2 separate regions of the Homo sapiens genome follow, and region 1 is linked to region 2. The links are contacts of gene promoters, found by promoter capture Hi-C in blood cells and fetal thymus (Javierre and others, 2016). All regions are on one chromosome and are shown on one strand. Each heading gives the region's core, a stretch centred on a gene start or on the middle of the fragment in contact. The rest is flanking DNA. Distances are from core to core; before and after follow the strand shown.

Region 1 (3,089 bases), core at 257-2,756, 6.6 Mb before region 2:
AGCTTTCTCACATGTCTCAGACTTCACAGGATTTAAGAGTTAGGGCCTTGCTCTAGATTAGGCTTTGGTTAAAGGGAATGTTGTGGCTGGTTTGCTCTTCTATCCAGACCACTAAAACTTTCTCTGTATCAGCAATGTAGCTGTTTTGCTTTCTTGTCATTCATGTGTTCAATACTGATCCCTCCGGCCCTAGACAACAATAGTCAGGTGTGGCTCTTTCCTGAAGCTCCTCTTCTTCTATTTAGACCCAGGATATTTACGGCTTCTGCTTACTCTTCTTTTTTTTCTTTTTTTTGAGACGGAGTCTCGCTCTGTCGCCCAGTCTGGAGTGCAGTGGCGCGATCTCGGCTCACTGCAAGCTCCTCCTCCTGGGTTCACGCCATTCTCCTGCCTCAGCCTCCCGAGTAGCTGGGACTACAGGCGCCCGCCACCATGCCTGGCTAATTTTTTGTATTTTTAGTAGAGACGCGGTTTCACTGTTTTAGCCAGGATGGTCTCGATCTCCTGACCTCGTGATCTGCCGCCTCAGCCTCCCAGAGCGCTGGGATTACAGGCGTGAGCCACCAGGCCCGGCTTTTTTTTTTTTTTTTTGAGACGGAGTCTCGCTCTGTTGTCCAGGCTGGAGTGCAGCTGCGCCATCTCAACTCACTGCAACGTCCACCTCCCGGGTTCGAGCGATTCTGTCTCAGCCTCCGGAGTAGCTGGGACTACAGGCATGTGCCACCATGCCCGGCTAATTTTTGTATTTTTAGCAGAGACGGGGGGTTTCACCATATTGGCTATTGGCTCTGCTGGTCTCGAACTCCTGACCTCAGGTGATCCGCCCACCTAGGCCTCCCAAAGTACTGGGATTACAGGCGTGAGCCACTGTGCCCGACCTTCTCTATATTATTTTTATTTATTTTTAATTAACAAAGCATAGAAACAGATTCAGGACATTCCTCCGAAGACGTTCCAGACTCGAGTCCTAGGACATGGTTGGGGCGGGGGTCATTTGATCGAGTGGCCTGTGTCCTTATCTGGAATACGGGACGACGCTGTAACTCTAACTCACCCTGCGAACTCACAGCTTTTGAGGTAAACAAGTGAGAAAGAAGAGACAATAAAGTGATCTTTCTTTACCATCTACCAAGGACCAGGTGGTTTACACGTCAGTTCATTTTCAGGAACACAGCAGCGCTCTGAAAACTACAGAGCTTCCTGGGCGTAGGGGGCTGTGGTCGCTTGAAAAGAACCAGCCTGGGGGTCCGAGTTCCACCGGAATTGGGTTCGAGCGCGGGTGAAAAGAGGGACCCGACAGCACCCACCCTCCAAGTAGAGGCAAAAGTTGAAAGTGGCGGGCTGGCTGCGCTTCCGAAGAAACACGACTGGCGAAGGCTCACCTTAGTCTCTACGGTGGGTCCCTCCCTGTAGCCGACCCGTTCCTTGAAGCGGGCCAGAAACGCCGGCTCGGCTGGCCGCACGTACGATACCTGGTTCCGCTTGCTCATGGTAGCTCTGGGTAAAGACAGAAGACAGGTTCCGCGACGGATTCGCGACGATACAGAGGCGCTTAGCTGTGACGTCACTGGGCCACGCCCCCGATGCGTAGGCCGGGCAACATGGCGGCCTCCATGCGGGCGTCAACGTCCGATCCAAGCGCCAAATTCAAATTTGCGGCCATCTTGAGCGGGCGGAATTCAGTCGCGCGCGGTGCAGTCGGGAGGTGGAGGCACCGGCTGCATTGTTTTCGGGATCGAGGGGTGAGGGCGCTATGGCACCCGGCTGCAAAAGTAAGTCTGGGCCCCCGGCTTCGTTACCCTATTTTTGCCCCCAAATACAGCTGTGAAAGGATGGCAGCCTCGGACCGCCCGCAAGGTTCTTGCTAGGCATGAACTGCAGGAGCTGAGTGACCGGCGGGGACGTTTGGGAATCCCGCTCTGTCGCTCAAAGACAATACGCTAGCCGAAAAGCTCATCCCTTCCTTCAGTGTCCTGTGCGCATGCCAGGAGTCTGGCGCAGTTCTAGGCGCTCGGGATGAGCAGTGGACCTGACGTTCTTCCCTTTCTTTCCCTTGGTTCTGCTGTTTCTTCGCAGGCCTCTTCCCACATCCCGACCAGGGCTACCTCTCTAGATATCCTTGTCTCAGGATCGGCTTTTGCTCCCACCAGCTTCTGCGTATTTCTACATTTCTGACCTTCCTATAGGGAAGGGTTTATTTATATTCCAAACATTTCTTTCTCCTCTTTCCTTAAATAAATGGAATGTTAAAACACAGATGTCAGCAATGTCTTTATGTTCTCACAGTCTCTATTTTCACTTAAAGGAGACCCGTCCGATTTCTTTCTCTTTTTCACGGAGGAGAGCACTGTCATTTTGCTTATGATAAACCCTACAGTTTTCACTAACGTAGTCATTTGCTGTGCCTGTGTACGTGCTCCACTTCTCACATTGCCACATCTCTTAAGGAGTCTTATTTTTGTAAACCTGATTATGAGCTGATTTAATGGGATCTTTGTGAGTGGTCTGAATGGTAATGAGGAGAGGCCTGGATTAGATGATTAAGAATTTGTGAACTTCTGTCATTTGAGCTTTCCAACGCCGTTAATGTTTCTAGCTTTCTGTCAATTGTAGTCGTTTTTGATGGGTTTGTTGTTTCATTAATCTTTTAGGTCGATCACACCTAATCGGAACACCTCCTTATGCTACCTTTTTGCATATAAAATATTCCTTTTCCTTTCATCATTTTCAGTATTCAAGGACTATGAGCTCACAAAATGGTACCTTATTGGAGAGAAATGTTCATCCTGCTTTCTGAACAATCATACTGTTTGTTCTTTGTTTCCACTTTATGGATCAGTCACTAAATCTGGACTCAAGCAAAAAATTTGATGCCTGTTAAATAAGTAAAACATCTGCTTATTTAATGAGATATATGTATGTGACTGAGGGCTCTTGTCTGAAAACCAAATTTGAGAACCTTTCTAAAGTGGTGGGAGCACTCTCCTTTATGATGGTGGTGATGCCATGGGGAACTTTTCCACTCCTTTAAGTTTGTTGGCAAAATTGAGGTTGATGACTTCCCAGTTAAAGTGCTTCTTGCATTCCCA
Region 2 (3,138 bases), core at 177-2,676:
GGTATTCAGCACTATAAATGTGTTTTTAACCTCCCGCATTCTGTGCTTATTTAAAACAAGGAAACTTCTAACCATTTCTTTTGTGTATTCATGTTTAAAGAAAAAAAGTGATTTAAAAATGATCTTACCTGTACCAGAAAAGCAAAGTTAAAGGAAACAAAATTTGTACCATTGTCCCAAGAGGTATTTTACTGTATATATTGTGGTAGCATGTTCAAAATCCAACAAGTAATGTGAATTTTAGATGTAAATATCTGCCACTTGATTTTTTTTCCCCCTTTCCCCACTTCCTTGACTGCTGTGATGTGAATTAAAGATAAATACGTGATACTGATCCACTGAATTCACTGAATGGGAGCAGAGGATGTGCCCCTCTCCAACCCTTGTCGCCGGGCTCCAAGCCCTTTTTAGCCCTATAGACATGTCCTTTTTGCACTGAGTAGAGCCAACGGTTCCCGCATCCTGCCTTGAAGGCAGGCAGCCAGGAGGGCACTTGAAAGGAGGGCAGTCGAAAAGGAAACATCCTCCAGTGCTTCTCTGGTGATTCCCGGGACCCCACTCAGGAGGTCCCACGGCAGCGGGGGACCCCGAGGGCCTAGCCGGGGAGGCAGGAGGAGGCTGGCCAGCCACCAAGCCACGATTCAGAGCTTGTAAGGGCACCTCCCGAGCCCCTCACCTTCCCACTCTGAGGCGACCCCATGTCCTCGACCGATGATCTGGCCCGGGCGCTTCCCTCCACGGTCTAGAGTGGCGGCCCAGCTTTGAGCTTGGCGCGCCTTGAGCCCTTCCTTCAGATGTCCCGCAGTCCGTCCACCCCGCACGTCTCCTATCAGCCTATGCACGGCGGGCTCCGGTCAGGTGGAGGATCAGCAGGTGGGCTTTCAAAGGTTGGATCCGTTGCCCACGCGAATGAAAGAAGAAAAAAGAAACCTCTTTGAGCCTTGCCTGCGGCCGCCCGCCCTTCCTGCCTAACCTGTTGTCTTGGCTGACCCCAGAACTCCTGCACCACGAGTCGGAGTCCGGGCGAGGAGATCAGCAGGGGTTTTCGAGGGAGCCTGGGGCCCAGGGCAGGGGTACGCGGGTCAACTCAACAGATGTAAGGCGTGGCCGAACCCCATTCAGCTAGCAGTACCCAGCCTCAGCCACAGTCGCTGCCCTTACCCAAGATGGCGGCCCACACCGCTTCCGTCGCTGCTGTAGTCGCTTCCTGCGGCCAGCCCGGGTTCAATCAGCGGCCGACAACTGTCTAGGGCTCAGACACCACCAGCCAATGAGGGAGGGCAGCGTGGAGCCGCCCGTCTGGGCTCGCGGCTCCTGGACCAATGGGGAAGTGGCATGTGGGAGGGCGCCGGGGGGCCCCCCGCCAATGGGGAGCTACGGCGCGCGGCCGGGACTTGGAGGCGGTGCGGCGCGGCGGGTGCGGTTCAGTCGGTCGGCGGCGGCAGCGGAGGAGGAGGAGGAGGAGGAGGATGAGGAGGATGAGGAGGATGTGGGCCACGCAGGGGCTGGCGGTGGCGCTGGCTCTGAGCGTGCTGCCGGGCAGCCGGGCGCTGCGGCCGGGCGACTGCGAAGGTGCGGGATAGGGGGCCGGGGGCCGCGCTCCGTGACCGTTCTGGCGGCGGCGCTGAACCCCACAACATCACCAGACGGCCGGGGCCAAGAGGGCGAGGGCGGGGGCGGGGGCGGGGGCGACAGCAGGTCCCCGCGGGGCCTGCATGAGGAGGCTCCGGCGCCCGCCCTAGTAAATCTTTCTTGGGCCTAGAAAACATTGGTCCGACGAAGAAAAGTTGAGACTAGATCCCGTTGAAAACTTGTCCTGAAATCTCCATCACTCCTGAGTTATTGTCCCCACCACCATCTAGAGGTTACCGCTCCCCGTTCGGCGTCGGGAGCTCCAGGGCTGGCCGTGGGTGCTGCGCCCTGTCTGTTGGGATCACGAAGCTGCACCTCTGGGTCCGCTGTTGTATTTGGAAATTAGCAGCAGCATTTTGATCATTTTTCTCTTCACCTTCCAGTCTCTCCATTTATGAGGTCACAGTGAGTCCCGTCTCAAGGACACGTGTTCACCATGGGCTTAAACTTGATGAAAGGAGCAGGGAGAAGTCGTTTATAGGTCATTGGGTGATGCTTGGTCCTTTGATGCCCTGGGTGTACCAGGGGACCCCCGCCACTTGGAACCGGGTTCTGTCTACCTGTAGACACCTGAGAAAAATCGGTGATGGAAAAGCTCACCTCTAATGATTCATCTCCGTGTCTCCTATTAAAATTGCTGGCGGAGTTCTTTTCTGGTGGATTGGAACAGCTTGGTGATTGCTGAGCATCTCCCGTCCCTCTCTTTTCCAGTTTGTATTTCTTATCTGGGAAGATTTTACCAGGACCTCAAAGACAGAGATGTCACATTCTCACCAGCCACTATTGAAAACGAACTTATAAAGTTCTGCCGGGAAGCAAGAGGCAAAGAGAATCGGTTGGTAAGTAGCTGGTGATCCTCCCCAACTGGCCCTGGCTCATGTTAACCCTCGGCTTCACCAGCCGTTTGATAAAAGGCCTTGCCCACCTCTCTGTTCAGGAAGCCAGCTACTCTCTCCATAAACTAATGTGAGAAGACTGAAGTGCTTCTATGTCCTTCCCAAAGCAGCATGTGTTCTGCAACTGTGATTTTTTTTTATCCTGTTAGTCTTTATTAAGCACCTACTATGTGCTAGGCACTGGGAATATCAGGGGAAAGAAGTGACAGTCGGACACACAAATAATGCAATGTCTGGGTGTCATGAAGAAAATGGACCAGCAGGTGCTGATTTAGAGTGGCCAAGAAGTCTCTGAGGAAGGGTTATCATTGAAGTGGGGTAAGACCATCCCATACAGGGAACAGCAGTGTGAGTGCCCAGAGGCCTGAAAGAGTGTGGCATGTATGTGGACAGGAGAAGGTGACAGGGTGCCTACAGGATAGGCAAGGGCCGAATCCAAGACAAAAGCCCTAGTGAAGCAATGGGTTTTCTAACTTGAATTTCTCTGACAGTCTCTGGCTTTTCTCTCTGTTAAAGGTTTGAACCCTGGTGACACTTAAATTCATTTGGTGGCTGTCAGCTTGGACTGAGCATGTGTTAAGAGTCCAGGGTTTACACTGGCTGAATCTGA

What was found. The method cuts DNA at HindIII sites, captures the fragments that hold promoters and counts their contacts. A CHiCAGO score of 5 or more calls a contact.
Region 1: the fragment with the promoter of KIAA1143 here is called in contact with the fragment with the promoter of MANF in region 2 in 1 of 17 cell types (neutrophils); the score reaches 9.2 in neutrophils.

The regions. Positions count from the first base shown.
Region 1 is chr3:44,760,113-44,763,201 of GRCh38, forward strand. It overlaps KIAA1143, which reads right to left and starts at 1,507. Exons shown (of 3, transcript NM_020696.4): 1 at 1,383-1,507. The coding sequence starts at 1,490. KIF15 (kinesin family member 15) reads left to right here and starts at 1,682. Exons shown (of 35, transcript NM_020242.3): 1 at 1,682-1,772. The coding sequence starts at 1,754. RefSeq lists enhancers at 20-662, 1,453-1,732. The HindIII fragment of the contact is 21,704 bases long and covers 1-3,089 here.
Region 2 is chr3:51,383,865-51,387,002 of GRCh38, forward strand. MANF (mesencephalic astrocyte derived neurotrophic factor) reads left to right here and starts at 1,427. Exons shown (of 4, transcript NM_006010.6): 1 at 1,427-1,572; 2 at 2,344-2,471. The coding sequence starts at 1,479. It overlaps DOCK3 (dedicator of cytokinesis 3), which reads left to right. Exons shown (of 53, transcript NM_004947.5): 53 at 1-334. RefSeq lists an enhancer at 843-1,192 and a silencer at 1,253-1,622. The HindIII fragment of the contact is 4,055 bases long and covers 1-3,138 here.